6 separate regions of the Homo sapiens genome follow, and regions 2, 3, 4, 5 and 6 are each linked to region 1. Evidence: promoter capture Hi-C in 16 types of primary human blood cells and fetal thymus (Javierre and others, 2016). All regions are on one chromosome and are shown on one strand. The core of a region is centred on a gene start or on the middle of the fragment in contact, and the rest is flanking DNA. Distances in the headings are between cores, read along the strand shown.

What was found. Contacts are between HindIII fragments. The CHiCAGO score rates a contact against its expected background, and 5 or more counts as called.
Region 2: a contact is called between a fragment that was not itself captured here and the fragment with the promoter of LAMP2 in region 1, in 2 of 17 cell types (M2 macrophages and M0 macrophages). The highest score is 5.9, in M2 macrophages.
Region 3: a contact is called between a fragment that was not itself captured here and the fragment with the promoter of LAMP2 in region 1, in 1 of 17 cell types (naive B cells). The highest score is 5.6, in naive B cells.
Region 4: a contact is called between a fragment that was not itself captured here and the fragment with the promoter of LAMP2 in region 1, in 1 of 17 cell types (naive CD4 T cells). The highest score is 6.0, in naive CD4 T cells.
Region 5: a contact is called between a fragment that was not itself captured here and the fragment with the promoter of LAMP2 in region 1, in 4 of 17 cell types (naive B cells, fetal thymus, total B cells and 1 more). The highest score is 10.0, in naive B cells.
Region 6: a contact is called between a fragment that was not itself captured here and the fragment with the promoter of LAMP2 in region 1, in 1 of 17 cell types (M0 macrophages). The highest score is 5.8, in M0 macrophages.

What each region holds. Positions count from the first base shown.
Region 1 is chrX:120,467,863-120,471,040 of GRCh38, reverse strand. LAMP2 (lysosomal associated membrane protein 2) reads left to right here and starts at 1,745. Exons shown (of 9, transcript NM_002294.3): 1 at 1,745-1,935. The coding sequence starts at 1,872. RefSeq lists a silencer at 1,543-1,807. The HindIII fragment of the contact is 7,034 bases long and covers 1-3,178 here.
Region 2 is chrX:120,025,628-120,028,805 of GRCh38, reverse strand. No RefSeq gene overlaps it. Among named protein-coding and RNA genes, the nearest start is that of RHOXF1-AS1, 9.0 kb to the left of the region's middle. The HindIII fragment of the contact is 5,075 bases long and covers 1-3,178 here.
Region 3 is chrX:120,092,498-120,095,675 of GRCh38, reverse strand. The region is part of intron 1 of RHOXF1-AS1 (RHOXF1 antisense RNA 1); the gene reads right to left. Among named protein-coding and RNA genes, the nearest start is that of RHOXF2B, 16 kb to the right of the region's middle. The HindIII fragment of the contact is 341 bases long and covers 1,321-1,661 here.
Region 4 is chrX:120,145,804-120,148,981 of GRCh38, reverse strand. RHOXF1-AS1 (RHOXF1 antisense RNA 1) reads right to left here. Exons shown (of 5, transcript NR_131238.1): 5 at 2,127-3,178. Among named protein-coding and RNA genes, the nearest start is that of RHOXF2, 11 kb to the left of the region's middle. The HindIII fragment of the contact is 3,196 bases long and covers 1-3,075 here.
Region 5 is chrX:120,751,102-120,754,279 of GRCh38, reverse strand. No RefSeq gene overlaps it. Among named protein-coding and RNA genes, the nearest start is that of C1GALT1C1, 120 kb to the right of the region's middle. The HindIII fragment of the contact is 528 bases long and covers 1,280-1,807 here.
Region 6 is chrX:120,208,277-120,211,454 of GRCh38, reverse strand. It overlaps the pseudogene EEF1A1P30. Among named protein-coding and RNA genes, the nearest start is that of ZBTB33, 41 kb to the left of the region's middle. The HindIII fragment of the contact is 3,168 bases long and covers 1-3,100 here.

The DNA of each region.
Region 1 (3,178 bases), core at 496-2,995:
GTATGTACATAGGAAAAATATCTGGAAGTATAGATGTGGGTGTGTGTATATATGTGTGTAAATATATATAATAATGTTAATAGTAGGAATACAGATGATCTCTATTTTTCCGCTTTATCCTTCTGTTTTATTTCTCTCATTTTTTTCTTCCTGTGTTTAAAAAAGATGCTTCTTGTTTCTGAGCTCAATTCCCCCACCTGAGAACAGGGTGCTGTAACTAGGTGAATTTCAAGATCATGTCTTGTTCCGATGGTCCGTGACTCCATACTACCCCCTAGGTTCCCTCGTCCATCTCACAGCATGAACTGCATAGGTAACAACAGTGTTTGGAGAATAAGCATGTATTATTTTTGTATGTATTACGTTTGAGATGCCTAGCAACCGTTTTTGTGCCCGCAAAATTTTTCTCTTCTTTGTCAAGGAGCCAAAACGGAAATAGTCTACTATCTACGGCCCTCAAAAGTTCCTCCTCTCTCCTTAGCCTTAGAAAATACCGTCCGCCATAGGCATGGGCAAAGACCTCATGGCTAAAACACCAAAAGCAATCGCAACAAAAGTCAAAATTGACAAATGGGATCTAATTAAAAGAACTTCTGCACAGCAAAAGAAATTAGCATTAGCGTGAACAGGCAACCTGCAGAATGGGAGAAAATTTTTGCAATCTACCCATCTGACAAAGGTCTAATATCCAGAATCTACAAGGACCTTAAACAAATTTACAAGAAAAAAACAACCCCATCAAAAAGTGGGCAAAGGATATGACCAGACACTTCTCAAAAAAAGACATTTATGCAGCAACAAACATGAAAAAAAGCTCATTATCACTGATCATTAGAGAAAGGCAAATCAAAACCACAATGAGATACCATCTCACGCCAGTCAGAATGGTGATTATTAAAAAATCAGGAAACAATAGATGCTGGCGAGGCTGAGGAAAAATAGGAATGCTTTTACACTGTTGGTGGGAGTGTAAATTAGTTCAACTATTGTGGCAGACAGTGTGGCGATTCCTCAAAAATCTAGAACCAGAAATACCATTTGACGCATGCACACGTATGTTTATTGCAGCACTATTTACAATAGCAAAGACTTGGAACCAACCCAAATGCCCATCAATGATAGACTAGATAAAGAAAACGTGGCACATATATGCCATGGAATACTATGCAGCCATAAAAAAATGAGATCATGTCCTTTGCAGGGACATGGATGAAGCTGGAAGCCATCATCCTTAGCAAACTAACACAGGAACAGAAAACAAAACACTGCATGTTCTCACTCATAAGTGGGAGTTGAACAATGAGAACACATGGACACAGGGAGGGGAACAACACACACGGGGGCCTGTCAAGGGGTGGGGGCCAAGGGGAGGGAGAGCATTAGGAGAAATACCTAATGCATGTGGGGCTTAAAACCTAGATGACGGGTTGATAGGTGCAGTAAACCACCATGGCACATGTATACCTATGTAACAAAGCTGCACATTCTGCACATGTATCCCAGAACTTAAAGTAAAATTAAAAAAAAAAAAAAAAAAGAAAGAAAAAGAAAAAGAAAATGCCGTCCGCGCATATCTCTCAGGAGCATAGGAAGGGCTGTGAACCAAAAAGCCAGGGCGTGGTCGCCCCGCCCACCGGCCGCTACATCACCACCCCTCTCGCCGCTTTCAAGCGCGGAGATTGGCTGTAAGCAAGAAAGAGCCCCGCCCCTAGTCTTATGACTCGCACTGAAGCGCCGATTCCTGGCTTTTGCAAGGCTGTGGTCGGTGGTCATCAGTGCTCTTGACCCAGGTCCAGCGAGCCTTTTCCCTGGTGTTGCAGCTGTTGTTGTACCGCCGCCGTCGCCGCCGTCGCCGCCTGCTCTGCGGGGTCATGGTGTGCTTCCGCCTCTTCCCGGTTCCGGGCTCAGGGCTCGTTCTGGTCTGCCTAGTCCTGGGTGAGTTGTCGGGCCCTCCCGATTAGTCTGTCCGCCTGGGCCCGGGGCACCAGTTCAAAGCTACAACCTGAAAGACTGGTCCGAGGGGGAGGGGGTTGAGAGGCTCAGCAGCTAACACTGGGCGGCGGCGGTTGGCCCGGGGAGGCAAGCGGTGACCTAGAGAAGGCCTGACCGACGGATGGCGGGGAAGAAGGGCCCAGGAGAGTAAGAAGGGGCCGGTAACGGGGGGTGGACGCCGAGGGAGTAGGCTGGGAGGAGTGAAGCGTGGAGAGGGTCAGCGTGGAAAGAGTAACTTGGGGAAAACACTGAGGAGTGAGCGTAGGAGGGTGGTACATGCAGATTTTGGGCGCCAGAGACAATTAGGAGAGTCTTGGTTTGCTGAGATCAGGGAAGAGTTTTGAAGATGGTGGAAAAACTATGGGGTGAGATAGGAAATTAAGAGAGAAGACCATGCCTGCCTGGAGTAGCTTGGGAGAAGTGTGTGGGTGGGGGACAGATGGGACAGATAGGACAGTAGAGCCTGAGGGGCAGGGGCAGTGACAGGGTTGGGCATTTTGAAGGTTGGAATTTGAGACTGTGAAGAAAGGATGATTCAAGAGATTAGGAGTGATGCTGGGTTTGAGTTTGGTAGTCATAGTTTTAAGGGCGAAGGAACCTAAGGTAGCTGGGGCAATTTCCAGGAAAGAAAACTTGGACCCAACCTCTGGAGACTAAGGGGTTCAGGGGGAACTTTGATGGGGAGTGCACATCTGACTTGGAGGTATTGAGGATGTCGATTTTCTCCCAGTTTTGCTACTTCCTCCCAGCCAGACGCTGACAAAAAAATCCCCAGACGTTTCAGTTAGGAGGGCCTCCCAGATGTGAGGTTTTGGGGGTGGAGTATTTGAGTTTGGTAGACTACCTCTTTGCCTTCAGAGTTTCTTCTTTTCTTTCTTCCCCATCACACAGCTAGCCTATTACCTCATATTTTGGGGGTGCAGGGAGCAGGTAGACAAACTTGCTAAGGATTGGGTTGTTACCAGGGCCTAAGAATGGCTGGATGGGGCCGGGCGTGGTGGCTCATGCCTGTAATCCCAGCACTTTGGGAGGCCGAGGTGGGTGTATCACCTGAGGTCAGGAATTCAAGACCAGCCTGGCCAACATGGTGAAACCCCGTCTCTACTAAAAATACAAAAATTAGCCGGGCGTCGTGGCACATGCCTGTAATCCCAGCTGCTTGGGCGGCTGAGGCAGGAGAATCGCT
Region 2 (3,178 bases), core at 309-2,808, 440 kb after region 1:
TGTTTAGGCATATATGTGAGTAGTTCTGTAGGATACTACTCAGGAGTGGAATGGCTAAGGGAAAGCAAAGTTCTTTTACTTATTTTTGCAAAGTGCTTTAAAAAATCTTTAAATGTATAAATGTTGATAGGTACCACCAAATTGCTTTTCAACATCACATACACAGTAGTGTAGGAAGGTCCCAATTTTTCCACATCCTTACCAACACTGGGTATTATCTGTCTTTCTTATTATAGCCATCTAGTGGATATGAAATGGCACTTCATTGTGCTTTTAACTTGTATTTCCCTTATGGCTAATGATACTGAACAGGTTTTCTTGTGCTTATTGTGCATCTGTATACTTTCTGTAGAGAACTGTCTATTCAGATCCTTTGCCCCCTTTTTAACTGGATTGTCTTTTTATTATCAAGTTTAAGCATTCTTTACATATTCTAGATATATTTTATCAGATGTGTGATTTGCAAAATTGTTCTCCAACTCTGTGGTTTGCCTCCTCACTTTTTGCCAATAGTGTCCATCGAGGCACACAAGTTTTAAATTTTGATGATGTCCAGTTTATCTATCTTTCTTCTGTGCTTGTGCTTTTGGTGTCATATCTAAGAATCCATTGACTATAGAAAGGTCATGAATTTTGCATCTATATTTTCTTCTAAGAGTTTTATAGTTTTAGCTCTTAAAGTTTTTATTCCTTTTGAATTAATTTTTGTATATGGTGTTATACAGGGTCCAACTTCATTCTTTTGCATGTGGATATCCAGTTTTCCCAGAACCATTTCTTAAAAAGATTATTTTTCCCCATTGAATGGCTTTAATGCCCATGTTGAAAATCAATTACCCATACATATATGAGTGTATTCCTGGACTCTAAATTCTATTCCATTGGTCTATATGCTTATCCTTATGGTAGTATCCCATTGTTTTGATTACTGTAGCTCTGTAGTGTGTTTTAAGATCAGGAAGTGTGAGTCTTCTAAATGTTTAACTTTTTCAAGATTATTTTGGCAATTCTTGGTCACTTCAGTGTTCAAGTACATTTTAGGATCAGCTTGTCAATTTCCAAATGACGTTAGCTGGGATTTTGAGAGATTTCACTGAATCAATCTGGGGAGTAGATCAAATTAAACAGTATTGCCATCTTAACACTATCAGGTCTTTTAATACATGAACATGGGATATCTTTTTATTTATTTCAGCATATTTGTGTCTCTGTGACAACTCTCATGTTTTCTGTCCTGCTGCTGTTGGCAAAAATGGTTCACCAATCAGGGAGGCCAATACTTTCCCCAGGTGGGCTTTCTTGTGTGCGATCAGCTGCAGTGTTTTAGATAAAGACTGTCACAAGAAAAGGGACACTGTAGGCTGGGCGCAGTGGCTCACACCTGTAATCCCAGCACTTTGGGAGGCTGAGAAAGGCGGATCACCTGAGGTCGAGAGTTTGAGACCAGCCTGACCAACATGGAGAAACCCCCTCTCTACTAAAAATACAAAATTAGCTGGGCGTGGTGGTGCATGCCTGTAATCCCAGCTACTTGGGAGACTGAGGCAGGAGAATCGCTTGAACCTGGGAGGCAGAGGTTGCGGTGAGCCAAAATCGCACCATTGCACTCCAGCCTGGGCAACAAGAGTGAAATTCCTTCTGAAAAAAAAAAATGAAATCAAAAGGGACACTGTATTTTAATAAAGTTGAAATTAAAATAAAAAAATAAATAAGTCCAGAGATAGGTTAAACACTGGAGCTGGTTAATTCAGAGGCTCGGTCATGGGGTTAAGGGAGCATCCTTCTATTCTGCTTTGCCATCCTTCAGGCATCAGCAGGATGTCCTCCATCCTGCCTCCCAGGCTTCAAAATATACACGGGAATATCCAGAGGGAGCAGAGACACTCTGTTCCTAAGTGTCTCTCTCAGGATTGAGGGGAATTTGACAGGGACCCCTCCTCTTCTCCCACTCTCTTACTTCCAGTGCCCCTCTTGCCCCCTCCCCTGACACCACACCATCCCATCCTATACCATGGACAAGAACTGCATCATTCACCCACGGGTAAACCTGTCTCTGGCATCTAGCATGGGAACACCTTGCTTGTTTCAGTTTGATCATGACTTCCCTTGTGAGGACAGACATTGTAACTGACATTCTAGAGTCAATATGGTTGTCTTTTCAGCCCAGCAACTGAGCATTGAAAGGAAAGCTGGACCACAGAACAGCGGACCATTTATCATGTCAGGAAGTCATGATTTTGTCACTTCCTCCGAGCCACACACTGAGAGGATCATTAGCTTCTTTCTAAGGACAAGGGTCTTAGAATGATTCCAGGGGCCTCATTAAGCACATTTCACCTCAGAGATAAATCTGAAATACTCAAAGAACATTATTAGAAAAGCCAAGGTCACACAGCAGGCAGTGAGGCCAGGATGGTCACCCAATCACTATGGCTCCACCATCCATGCAAGGTAGTGAGAGGTGACAGCGTACTGGCAGCCCCTGCAGCCTTCGCTCCCTCTCGGCGCCTCCTCGGCCTCGGCGCCCACTCTGGCCACGCTTGAGGAGCCCTTCAGCCTGCCACTGCACTGTGGGAGCCCCTTTCTGGGCTGGCCGAGGCTGGAGCCGGCTCCCTCAGCTTGCCTGGAGGTGTGGAGGGAGATGCGCGGGCAGGAACCGGGGCTGCGTAAGGCGCTTGCGGGCCAGCGCGAGTTCCGGGTGGGCGTGGGCTCAACCTGCCCCGCACTCAGAGCGGCCGGCCAGCGCCACTGGCCCCGGGCAGTGACGGGCTTAGCACCCGGGCCAGCAGCTGTGGAGGGTGCGCCGGGTCCCCTAGCAGCGCCGGCCCGCCGGCGCTGCACTCGAATTTTCGCAGGACCTCTCGAATTTTCGCAGGACCTCAGCTGCCTCCCCGCGGGGCAGGGCTCAGGACCTGCAGCCTGCCATGCCTGAGCCCCCCTCCACCGTGGGCTCCTGTGCGGCCCGAGCCTCCCCGACGAGCGCCGCCTCCTGCTCCACAGCACCCAGTCCCATCCACCGCCCAAGGGATGAGGAGTGCAGGCACACGGCGCGGGACTGGTGGGCAGCTCCACCTGCCGCCCAGGTGCGGGATCCACTGGGTGAAGCCAGCTGGGCCCTGAGTCTAGTGGGGACTTGGAGAACCTTTATGTCTAGCTAAGGGATTGTAAATACACCAAT
Region 3 (3,178 bases), core at 242-2,741, 380 kb after region 1:
GAAATTTCCCCAAATCACATAACTTCTCTGACTCAATTCAGCTCTTGGACCTAACTCAGTGAACGATTACTTTCAGTATCCAATAGTGTGGTCCAGTTTTTCCATTTAACACTATTTCAGAAATGCTTTTCAACATTTTATCATTTTCTTCATAGTTTTCATTTTAATGTCTGCATTCGTATCTTGTAATTTGCTTAAGGTTGTTTCCTGACACATAATGAGTGATCAACAGATATCAATTGAATGAATGCACATCTTTGTACATATGGCTACTTTTAAACTTTCTTTTGCTTCCTTTTTTGTTTTCTGTTTGTTTGAGACGGAGTCACCCTGTCACCCAGGCTGGAGTGCAGTGGCACAATCTAGGCTCACTGCAGCCACTGCCTCCCCGGTTCAAGCAATTCTCCTGTCTCGGCCTCCAAAGTAGCTGGGTTTACAGGTGTGTGCCACCATGCCTGGCTATTTTTTTTGTATTTTTTAGTAGAGATGGGGTTTCACCATGTTGGCCAGGCTGGTCTTGAACTTCTGACCTCAAGTGATCTGCTCATCTCGGCCTCCCAAAATGCTGAGATTACAGGTGTGAGCTACCATGCCTGGCCTTGTTTTGTTTTTGAGGCAGTGTTTCACTCTGTCACCCAGGCTGGAGTGCAGTGGCTCAATCATGGCTCACTGCAGCCTCGACCTCCTGGGCTCAAGTGATCCTCCCACCTCAGCCTGCTGTGTAGCTTGGGCTATAGGCATGTACCACCATGCCCAGCTAATTTTGCAAATTTTTTGTAGAGCCAGGGTTTTGCCATATTGCCCAGGCTGGTCTTGAACTCCTGGACTCAAGCAATCCTCCTGCCTCAGCTTCCCAAATTGCTGGGATTTCAGGCATGAGCCACCACACTCAGCCTAAATTAGCATTTTTGGGCTAACATGCCAGAACTGAAATACATAAGTGAAAGAGTTTGAACCTTTTCTTTTTTTCTTGTATATTGCCATGAGAAACAGTATCCAGTTTTGGTTAAAAACATGGTTTTTAGGCTAGGTGTGGTGACACGCGCCTGTAGTCCTAGCTACTCAGGAGGCTGAGGCAGGAGGATCCCTTGAGCCAAGGAGTTTGAGGCTGTAGTGAGCTAGAGTTGTGCCACTGTGCTCCAGCCTGGGCCACAGAGCAAGACTCTGCCTCTAAAAAATAATCAGCAAGGCACCGTGGCTTACACCTGTAATCTCAGAGATTTGGGAGGTGAGGTAGGAGGATCACTTCAGGCCAGGAATTTGAGAACATCCTGGGCAACATAGTGAGACATCATCTCTATTTAAAAAAAAAAAAAAGCTTCCAAATGGTTTTATGTAAAATAAAAAAAAGGAACATAGCGTTTTTAACTTCAACAAAGCTCTATTAGGCTAGTTTGGATATTTGTCCCCTGCAAATCTCATGTCAAAATTTAATCCCCAGTGTTGGAGGTGAGACTTGGCAGGAAATGTTTGGATCATGGGGTTGAGTCCCTCATGAATGGCATGGTGCTGACCTGGTATAATGAGTGAGTTCACACTCTATTATTTCCCCTGAGATCTGCTTGTTAAAAAAGCCTGAAACCTCCTCCCCTATCTTTTGTTCCTTCCTGTCACCATGTGATTGACATACACTTGCTCCCCTTCCTCCATGAGTGGAAGCTTCCTGAAGCCCTCACCAGAAGCAGATGCTGGTGTCATCCTTCTTGTACAGCCTACAGAACGATGAACCAAATAAACCTCTTTTCTTTATAAATTACCCAGCCTCAGGTGTTCCTTTACAGTAACACAAAAATGGACTAAAACACCATACTAACTGTGTGATGGGGGACCACTTACCCCTCCCTTCTGAGTCACAGTCATCTGATCTACAAAATGGGGTAAACAGTAGTTCCTCTGCACAGAGATGTGGGCACAAGAGGAAAGTGGGCACAATATTGGTTATTGTTATTATCATTGCCATTTGCAATACATGTTTTTCCCCACAGCCACAGGAACGTTGTATTTTATCATTTTCAGCTTGTCTTTATTTATTAATTAGGTATGAAATGACACTGTTATATTTATACTAACTAGGCCAGGCTTGGTGGCTCATGCCTGTAATCCCAGCACTTTAGGAGGCTGAGGCGGGCAGATCACCTGAGGCCAAGAGTTTGAGACCAGCCTGACCAACATGGTGAAACCCCATCTCTACTAAAAATACAAAAATTAGCTGGGCGTGGTGGTAGGTGCCTGTAGTCCCAGCTCCTCTGGAGGCTGAGGCACAAGAATTGCTTGAACCCAGGAGACAGAGGTTGCAGCAAGCCGAGATCACACCACTTCACTCCAGCCTGGGTGACAGAGTGAGATTCTGTCTCAAAAATATAATAAAATAAAATATAAATTTAATTTAAAAATATATTTATAGTTCCTTGTTGCATAGTGAAGTTAACACCTTTTTTAAGGCTCTTCTATGTGCTTTTTGTTCTGTGATTTGTTTTATTCTTCACTGAACGTTTGGACATTTGGTGGTATTCTTCCAATGTTTAATAACTTAAAAAATACATTTAAAATAACTAATGCTTACGTTTTTCACTACAAATATTTCCCCATTCTGTTGTTTTCCTCTTTTTCTTAGTTTTGTGGTCCATATTTTTCTTTCTGATTTTTTTATTGCTTCATAACTTTAAAAGTTATCCTTCTTCCAGAGTTGACATTATGCTTTATCAAATAATTGCACTGATGATTTTTAAATTCTATACTTCTACTTGATTTGATGTTACCTAAATTTAACTCCTTAAATCAGCTGAGATACATTGTGCTGCCTTAGTAGGAGATAGGTAGAAAGGTGAGGATAGGAATAACATCTACCTTACACCATTGCTGTGACAAGTGAAAGACGCAATGCATGCATGTCTAACACTGCGCCTGGCAGGTAAAGAGCAGGGACTCAGTAAGTGACGAAAGCTATTAATTTAATTCTTATTATCAGTATCTAAAGTTGGATATCTGTAGAAGGAACACTGAGAGGTTTGTCACATACCAATTATAGGAGTAACATAGAACTGTAAAAATTTTATAAATTAATTGAAAATGACAACTCTAAATTCATATGTACAACTGCACATGAAATACATATAATCATAGATATAACTAAACATACACAGCAATACATTTACTTCTTTTTGATACTGCGAGTGAT
Region 4 (3,178 bases), core at 228-2,727, 320 kb after region 1:
TGTACTTGGGCTTTTGTCAGGCTTTTGGCACACTTCTGATATTTTGCTTATATTCATTGTCTTCCTTACTCCTGCTTTTTTCTCATTCAGGAGTGCCTTTCTATATTGCTGCAGGCCTTCCATGTCCCTTGCCTCATTTGGATCCCAGTTAGGGTCCTCATTTGGGTATTGCTGAACTGGCGTGGGTTAGGGGTGGTCTCTGGGGCTTCCCCTTCTAACCAGCTGAGAGCTGCCTGATTAACTCTCCTATGCTCCTCTGTATTAAATAATGTTAGCAAAAGTTGTTGACAATCCGGCCAGGTTGGATTATGTGTCATAATAGTAGAATTCACCAAATCAATGAGAGCCTGAGGTTTTTCTATATAGGAGGGGGTGTGTTGTTTCCAATTTAAGAGATCAGTAGTGGAGAAAGGCTGATAAACATAAAGCCTAGGGCCGCCTTGTATCTGCCCCTGGTCATCATAAACTTGTGTCCTGGTCTCTCAAAGTGGCATCTGCAAAGCCTGTGGTCGGCCTGAGCAGAGGCACCCAGCTGCCTCACCCTGTCCATCTTCCTTGTTTTTTTATAATGGGGGCTTCTGGTCCTCTGTGGGGGGAGACTGAGCCTCACTTTCCTCTGAGCCCAACTCTCCGGACACTCCTGACTCTGCCTCCTGCCTTATTCTGGTCAAAGATGGGTAGACTGGCACATATGGGGGCGGACATTCCCTTTCCTTGGGTGGGGCCTGAAGAACTGGTTTCAGCTGAGGCTTCAGGGATTCCTTTTCCTGGGAGATGCTAGGGGCTTTAGGTTCCTCTGCTTCCTTTGGTTGGGCCACATGAGACACTAATGCCTTGCAATATCCCTCTAGGCAGGGCTGTAGCTACTTGAGGTGACTTCGTGCCACATTGAGCCAAGAGTCTATATAGGGAAACTGGTCTGGGTATCCTGGTTGTCCTCCAACTCCAGTGACCACCTTAAACACATGGCCAGTTAATTCCCTATTATACCTTCGGAGGGCCTCCCCACATTGAAAGCAGGCCAATCTATTTCACAGTTATGTCCTTAGCTTTTGAGCATCCAGTTTCATCCCATAATCACCTCTAAATCTTTTTTTAAAATTCTATATCATGCACTCCAAAGGAGTTGATTTCAATGCTTTCCCTCCCATTTCCTCCCTTGTGGTGCACTTTCCCTTTCACTTTCACCCTTGGGTCCACCAGACCAGGTCCTATTACGGGAGTTTTGGACACTGCTTAGCCAGGAATGTGCCTTCCCCTGTCACAGCCTGCTGTGGCTGTGAAGCTGGTTCGATCAGCCGTATGCAGCGTCCTAGGTCTGATTTCCCCCACACTTGCCTCGGAGCACACAGCCCACGCTGAGGGATCTGTGCCTCCCCACATCACTCCCCACATTGGCCTCTCCCGAGACCGTCTCTTTCTCACACTTTCACACACCTCCCCTGCACCAGGACTCCTCATCGGATGAAACAAGCCTCTCTCGTGTCCCAGGTGAGCCTAGTTAGGCTCCCACATTCACACACATACACAGACCACTCCTACCCCAGGACTCCTCATCGGACAAAATGAGCCTCTCTCATGTCCCAGGTAGGTTCACATGCACCCACACACTCCCAGTTGGGATGGCAAGCCACTCTTGCCACCCTGCCAGCAAGCTGTACCTTGCTGCACTTGCCACTCTATCGGCCCATTTTCTCCCTTTTCCCAGTTCCACTGTTAGTGGGGACACGAGGTTCATCCAAATTGGCAAGCCACTCCTGCCGCCCCCAGCCACTCTAGGTTGGATTACTGGTTGGTCCCTGGGAGGTGACCAAGCTCCCCTTCATCCTTATGGGATGGGCTTTCATGCCTTGGGCCCTTGCTCCTTACAGCGGTTCCTGAAGTGCTGGTATCTTCCTGCAGCCCCATCCCCGGTTCCATTGCACTGCTGGGCAGGCCACTGGGATGCGGGGAGAGCCTATCTCTGTCTGGGTGAAGCTCCCCTGTGATACACCTTGGATGCCGGGTCTCCCCCGGTCCTTGGGCTCTAGTCCCCACAGGCAAAGGAGACAGTAAATCTGTCGTCTCCAATCCCAGGCGAGTCCCCAGAAATGTTGCGGGATTTTTTAAGGAATCAGAGAGACAAATGGGGTTCAGGAAGATATTTATTATTTAGGTGCACCGGCCCAGTACTCAGCCCAAAGGACTGAGCCCAGAACAAAGAGTTAAGTTACCTTTTAAGCATTTTGTAGGGTGGGTGGAGATCTGTGCAGGGGGAAGCATATTACAGAAGCGAGAAACAAAGACAGTTATTTAATTAATTGAGAAATGCATTACAGCATTTCTTACTTTTCAAGGAAAAACATGTTTTACAACTTGAGTTTATCTGTCTAGTGACCTTGCAGCTGCACAGCTAGAGAAACAGGGTCTTCACAATGTCTGGGAAAGGAGGAGAGATAAGGCTCACTAGCCACAGAAAAACAGGCAGTTAATTTTTAAAGGACTCCAACTCTTTCTCTTTCTCAGGGGGAATTGGGTTTTCTTACATACAACTGAGTTTCTCCTTACACATTCTTTAATTTCTTTTAATTCCTATTCCAATACCATAAAAGCAATTAAGGACAGGTCTAGAGTTAGTTAAAGACAGGTGGAGGTGGTGATAGAGAGGACAGGGTTACATTGGTAAGGGTGACAGTTAGAAGGGGAAGTCCTTTTAGTGAAATAGATGAGAGGTTTTAGATCTGCACAAACCTTTTTCATGGAAGTCCAACTTTGCTCCTGGGTAGTTTAAAGGACGTAGTCCCATGTACCACAAGGTTGCCAGGCTATAGGAGCAGAAAATCAGCGTCTTGGCTGCAGGTGATCACAACGATGAGTGCTAGGGGTAACTGTGTCAATTAGAGGGCCGAGGCATAAATAATTGTGTGAAAAGGCTAGCTGTCATTGATCTTTTACATTTCCACAAGGTATGACAGAGCAAGCATAAAAGGCAATGGTCTGAGGTGACTCAGACTTAGTTACATTAATAACAAAGGAGCTAGTAACAGAATAAGGAAAGGAAAAGAAGCAATATAGAAGGTATATGAAAATTAAGCTTTCTTTAACTTTAACTTAGTAAGGCTTAATCCTAGTACAGTAACCCATGATTCTGACGAGGAAGATGTTTTCTTGACTTGAGTATGGTGGGTCCATCCTTTCT
Region 5 (3,178 bases), core at 294-2,793, 280 kb before region 1:
AGGTATAGCCAGCGTTAACTCCTGGTTTAAAAAGTCAAATAGCTCTTCTTAATAACAGCCATCTCTGGGATTACCCTTCTTAGCTCAATAATTATTTGTTAAATGAAAGAATCTAGGTGAAATTAGGTTCCAACCATCATCAAGGGGAAAAAACCAAAAGGGACAGCTAGCGGTGTTGTGAGGCAGTATTCAGTGTGCTATGATTAAGAGGTAAGACAGAGAGGCAGTGTCTACAAATAGCAGTGCTTTCCTGGGGCCGACTTAGGTCCAGGAGCTGGCTTTCCATTTTAGAGGTGAAAAACCGTATTTTGCCAGCCCACACAGGTGCGAGGTGGGATCTTCTTGACGACTCCCATTCACCAAACTTACAAGAGATTGATAACACTGCATAATTATGCAACTGCATGACTAACTCATTGGTGCTCTAGCCCTGACACAGAGAAGAACCGTACAGAGACAGTACACTGGATGCAAAGGTTTTAATTTAGGGAGAGGGAGGTGGGAAGTTAGGAGAAGATCATCTGAAAAGGGCACTGCTCAGGTAGGCACTTCTCAGGTGTGCCATCCATGTGGTAAACATCTTTAGCCACTGTATGGAGCCTCTGCTTTGCCTATGTTTTTAACAGGGTTTTAAACAAGTGTTTAGACGTGCCAAACACCTGCTGGTGAAAGGAAAATGCGGGGGCGGCGGGGGGTGGTGTGCTTCAAGTGGAGAAAGATAAATTTGCATTTCCTACTCAAAAGGAGAAACAAAAATAATGCATAATGGGAGAAGAAATTTAATAACTACCATTTCTAATTGGGAACATGTTATCTCATTTAATCCTCCCCACAGCACTGTGAGGGAGGTACTATGGTTATTCCATTCTATAAGGAAGAATCTAAAGCTCAGAGAGGTTAAATAGCTTGCCAAAGATCACAGAGTTGATAAGTAGTAGAAGCAGGGTTGGAACTCTCCAAGTCCCATGCTTTAACTTAGTTGTCCTCAAACTTTCCAGTACATTAGAGTCACCTGGGGGCTTATTTGAATTGCTGACTGCTGGGACCTACTCTCACCGTCCTCCCGCAGCCCCCCGCCCCACCAAATTCTGATTTTGAGGGTGTGAGGAGGGCCCAATAATCTAATGTTACAAGCCCCACGCCTCCCCTGCCCTGGTACTTATGGTGCAAGTGGTTCTTTGTGGGGATTCACAGCTCTTCTCTTTATGTGATGCCGGTGGACAAGAAAGCTGCCTCCTCCCTCTTCACAGCACATCCAAACTCGACTTTAAAAGAAGCTTAAACCATGATTCTCTTGTGTTCTTTGATCATCTTCCACTTCCTGGAATTGCTTGATGAGTTCAAAGGCCCTTCACAGTGAGCTCAGATCAGGACAAAGTGCACACATGTCTCTTAGTGAAGCATCTATCCCAGCTGGCTCACATCCCAAGAGAAGCGAATGAGCTCTTCCCCTACACGAGGCCCCAAAATTAGAGAGCGGTGATGAGCAGCTCTGTTGCAGATCATACCCCTGGATACCTTCAAGAAAAAAAGCATCTGTTTGGCCTTGAATTAAGTTATTTGGTCTCTGATTGTTGCTCTGCACCTCTCCCTGCACAAAACCCCGGAGAAAGGGAAGCAAACATTGGCTCCCAGAGAACTGTGAGTAGTAAACGCAAAAGCCTTCCCAGCTGCAAGCTGGGCCCCACTGCAGCTGTGAGGGGTGGAGGGTAGGGGGGTATCATTTTCTTAGCCTCAGTGAAATCACCTGCATTTGAATTTAATTCTACTTTGGCCCTTCCTCAACTCCCTGTTCTAACCCTAAGCTTCTCAGAAAGCCAGCACACACACCCCCTCACCTTGCCTTCAGCTTCTCCCTCACCCCATTCCCTCTGGCCAGGTTTCTGGAGATAACTGAGTAAGATCCTCCATAGCTTGGTGGCTGTTAGGGTCTTGGTCAAGCATTTCATTAAAGAAATGGCTTAATCAAGGAAGCCCACCATTCCACTCCTTCAGAAAAGACGAAACCATTCAATTCATGTAGCAGAAATAGCATCGAGGATTCAAAACTTCACTCTGTCACTCTGTGTAAAAGTTACCTTAATCTTTCTGAGACATGTGTATAAAATAGTAATAACACCTATTATGTTCAAGTGTGATAAGATTATATTTTTAAAGTGAATATTAAAGTGGCATATAGGGATTCTAATAATAATAGCAACAATAAATAGCTAACATTTCTTGAATATTTATTTCATGCCAAGCACTGTTCTAATCACTACATTTGAATTCATTTGTAAATTACAACCATCTGAAATAAGTACTTGTATTATGCCCATTTTACAGACAAGGAAACAGGTTCAGAGGGGTGGAACAAAGTGCCCGTGGTCACAAAACGAGTTCAAATCAAAGCTGAAATTCAAACCTAGTTCTGTGACTCCAACACCTGCTGCTGATGCTATGGTCATTGCCTTTGTTGTTTACTAAGAGCCTGCTGTGTGAAAGTTATGAGTGCCACAGACAGTAATAACACATGGGCTTATCCACAATAAGTTTGCAGTCTAGACCAGATATGGAGATAAGGCCTCTGCATTAAAGAGAGGCTAATACAAGTGCCCACTGAGTAGCTCAGAAGTTCAGGGAGGAGGCAGGAAGTCCATGGAGAGGTTAGAAATTACATACCCTTGGCTCATTTAATACCTTCTGTCTTCAATAGACTTACCTTCAGTTCCTGGGCCCTTCAATGGACCATGGACTTTAGAGTTATATTGCATGGGTTCTGGTCCCAGCTATAGGTGGGTTAAGTCATCTAGCCCCTGTGAGCTTTATTTTCCTTATCTGTCAAGTGAGGACAATAATAATACTTCCCCCTCCAGTGTTCCCGTGAAGACTACTTGAGCAAACACGTGTAAATGATACAGCACATGTTCAGCACTCAATAACATGGGAGAATTTATGATTATCTTTTTTTTTACTGCTCCTGTGGAAAGTGGGACCCCCATCATATTTTCTGTGTGCGCTCAGATTCAGATTTAGAAGGTAGTAATTCCCACCCCCACTGGCCAAATGGAAGGAAGGAAAAAGGAGAAGAGGGAGGGTGGGTTCTTGGGTGTGCACGGGCAACTCAGCAGGGGCTTGGGATGATAGAGCAGGTGGGAGGGTGGACCGGAGCCCAAGCATGGTTGGGGGATTGATGGAT
Region 6 (3,178 bases), core at 267-2,766, 260 kb after region 1:
ATCGGATATAAAGGAAAAGAAGGCTAAGTTGTTATAAACATCAGTTAGCATGCCTTACAGTTCTTGGTGGTTTAAGATCACCACTTTATATTTCAAAGCATCTGAATAAAGACAGCTTCACAGTTGCTCCCAAGTCTTCATATCTGAAAGAATCCTTTTACAAATCTGAAATGGAACAATTTGATATTTATTACAGAATCATCGTGGTCTTGCAAGAAATCAGTGATTTACATTTGTAACCATATTTCCAAAGAGAATGTCTTTTTTATGAAGTGGGGGGATGTAAGAGGTACATAGATTATTTACAGCTGTCTCTGTCAAGCATTTGCTCTTTATTTGTGTCCATTGCTGGATTCAACACTACATTGGCATATCCATACTTAGCTTTTGTTATTGCTGTTGTTCTGATTAAAAACATGCATTACATTCTTTCTAAGAAAAAAAAAAAGAACGCATCTGCCAAAGATGTTCATCATGGCAATGTTGCTGGTGACAGCAAAAATGACCCACCAATGGAAGCATCTGGCTTCACTGCTCAGGTGATTATCCTGAACCATCTAGGCCAAATCAGTGCTGGCTATGCCCCTGCACTAGATTGTCACACATCTCAAATTCCTTACAAGTGTTCTGAGCAGAAAGAAAAGGTGACCATTCTGGTAAGAAGCTAGAACATGGCCCTAAATTCTTGAAATCTGGTGGTGCTGCCATGACTGATATAGTTCCTAACAAGCCCATGTGTGTTGAGAGCTTCTCTGAATATTCTGACTATCCTGACTATTCTCTTCTGGGACATTTTGCGGGCAGATATACCTTTATACCAAGGATAGAACCAAGTATGAACTTATACAACAGGTTATATAGGTTATATAACAAGTGGAGGTGTGCACCTGCATGCCAAATTCGCTGAGACAGACAGTTGCCATGGGTTCAGAGGACAAGAAGGCGGCTAGAGCTGGCAAGGTCACCAAGTCTGTCCAGAAAGCTCAGAAAGCTAAATGAATATTATCCCTAATACATGCCACCCCAGTCTTTTTTGTTGTTGTTGTTGTTGTCTGGTGTTTTTGTTTTTTGTTTTTTGTTTTTTGTTTTGAGACAGGTTCTCACTCTGTTGCCCTGGCTGGAGTGTAGTGGCACAATCACTGCTCACTGCGACCTCTGCCTCCTGGGTTCAAGCAATCCTCCTGCCTTAGACTCCCAAGTAGCTGGAACTACAGACATGTGCCGCCATGCCTGGCTAGGTCTCATTATATTGCCCAGGCTGGTTTCAAACTCCTGGGCTCAAGTGATCTACCCACCTTAGCCTTCCAAAATGTTGGGAGTACAGGCATGAGCCACGGTGCCTGGCCTGAGTCTTAATCAGTGGTGGAAGGGTCTCAGAACTGTTTGTTTCAACTGGCCACTTAAGTTTAGTCGTAAAAGACTGGTTAATGATAACAATGCATTGTAAAACCTTTGGAAGGAAAGGAGAATGTTTTGTGAACTTTTTTTTTTTTGGCATCTGGTAGTTTTAAGTTATTTAATTTTTAAAATCAGCACTTTTTAGTGGAAACAACTTGACCAAAAATCTGTCACAGAAATTTGAGACCCATTGAAACCAAATTTAATGAGGGAAAAAAGAGAGTAGTCAACAGTGTTAAGAGTACAAAGAAATAAAGTGGACTAAGATCTGGATTTGATGTTTTATAAGTTTCTGATGAATTAAAATAGCATTTTAAAAGCAGGAGTCATATTCAAGGAACTGCAGAGAAAATGGGAGGAAGAAAAATACTTTTGCAATAAACTTAGGGTGCCATTTAAAGAAGTTTGACATCAAAAAGAAAGCGAGGGTAATAGATGGGTTACTTAAGTGTCATATACAAATCTCTTCCTTTTTTTTTCAAAATTGAATTTTTTTGTAATGTCTATAATCCTGTGTCTGATTTGCAAATTTGGATGTAAAATAAGAATCACTTGAACATAGTTGCAGAGTTTGATCAGAGAAGCAGAGTGAAAAGCAATAAGGGATGATTACAGGAATCAGACCATATGCAATTGTGGGAGCAGGGTGTCAGGTCCTGGGGTCCGGGTCCAACCCATGCTGAAGTCCGGAGGGAGTGGGTGGATGAGCAGAAAGAACATTCGGGGGGCTGTAGGCAGGTGAATATGGTTTTATTCAGCAGCAGCTTTTTTTTATTTTATTTTATTTATTTATTTTTTTTTTTTGAGACGGAGTCTCGGTCTGTCTCCCAGGCTGGAGTGCAGTAGCGCGATCTCGGCTCACTGCAAGCTCCGCCTCCCAGGTTCACACCATTCTCCTGCCTCAGCCTCCCGAGTAGCTGGGACTACAGGCGCATGCCACCTCGCCCAGCTAATTTTCTGTATTTTTAGTAGAGACGGGGTTTCACCTTGTTAGCCGGGATGGTCTCGATCTCCTGACCTCGTGATCCGCTGGCCTCGGCCTCCCAAAGTGCTGAGATTACAGGCGTGAGCCACTGCGCCCGGCCAGCAGCAGCTTTTATGAACAGCTTTCTCACACTGGCTCTCTCACACTGGCCACCCTGTCTTGGCTGCTTGAGCCAGCGGCTCCCACACACAGCTGTGCAGCCAGTTCTCCCTTGCCTTCAGGGTCAGCAGCTTAACTCTTTTTCTCTCTGGGCATGAGCAAGCCAAGCTGTGTCCTGGCTCCCTCTTGTCCATCTGCAAGACTGACAGTTTTGGCTCTCTCTCTTTCTCTGGGCACCAGCGCACCCACTACCATGTTAACCCATGTTGAGCCGAGCTGAGCCCCAACAGCCCTGTACAGCATTAGCAGGGCAAATATACCTTTATACCAAGTATAGAGCCAAGTGTGAACTTACACAAACAGGTTATATAACAAGCAGAGGTGTGCACCTGCATGCCAAACTCACTGAGTCATGCAGGCCTGGATATCCACCTCGGCTTATTCCTTGACCAAAGCACATCCATGTACCTTACACTCCACCCCCTAGGCTGAGGGAGACTTAGGTCTTGGGCACACAGGTTTGATACTCAAGTTTTGCACACAGGCCTGACATATAAACTTTGGGCACGCAGGCCTGATATATACACAGGCTTGACACATAAGCCTGACACACAAGCTTTGGGCATGCAGGCCCAATACATACACAAGCTTTTGGGCACTCTAGCCCGTTACATACATAAGCTTTGATAAACTGCC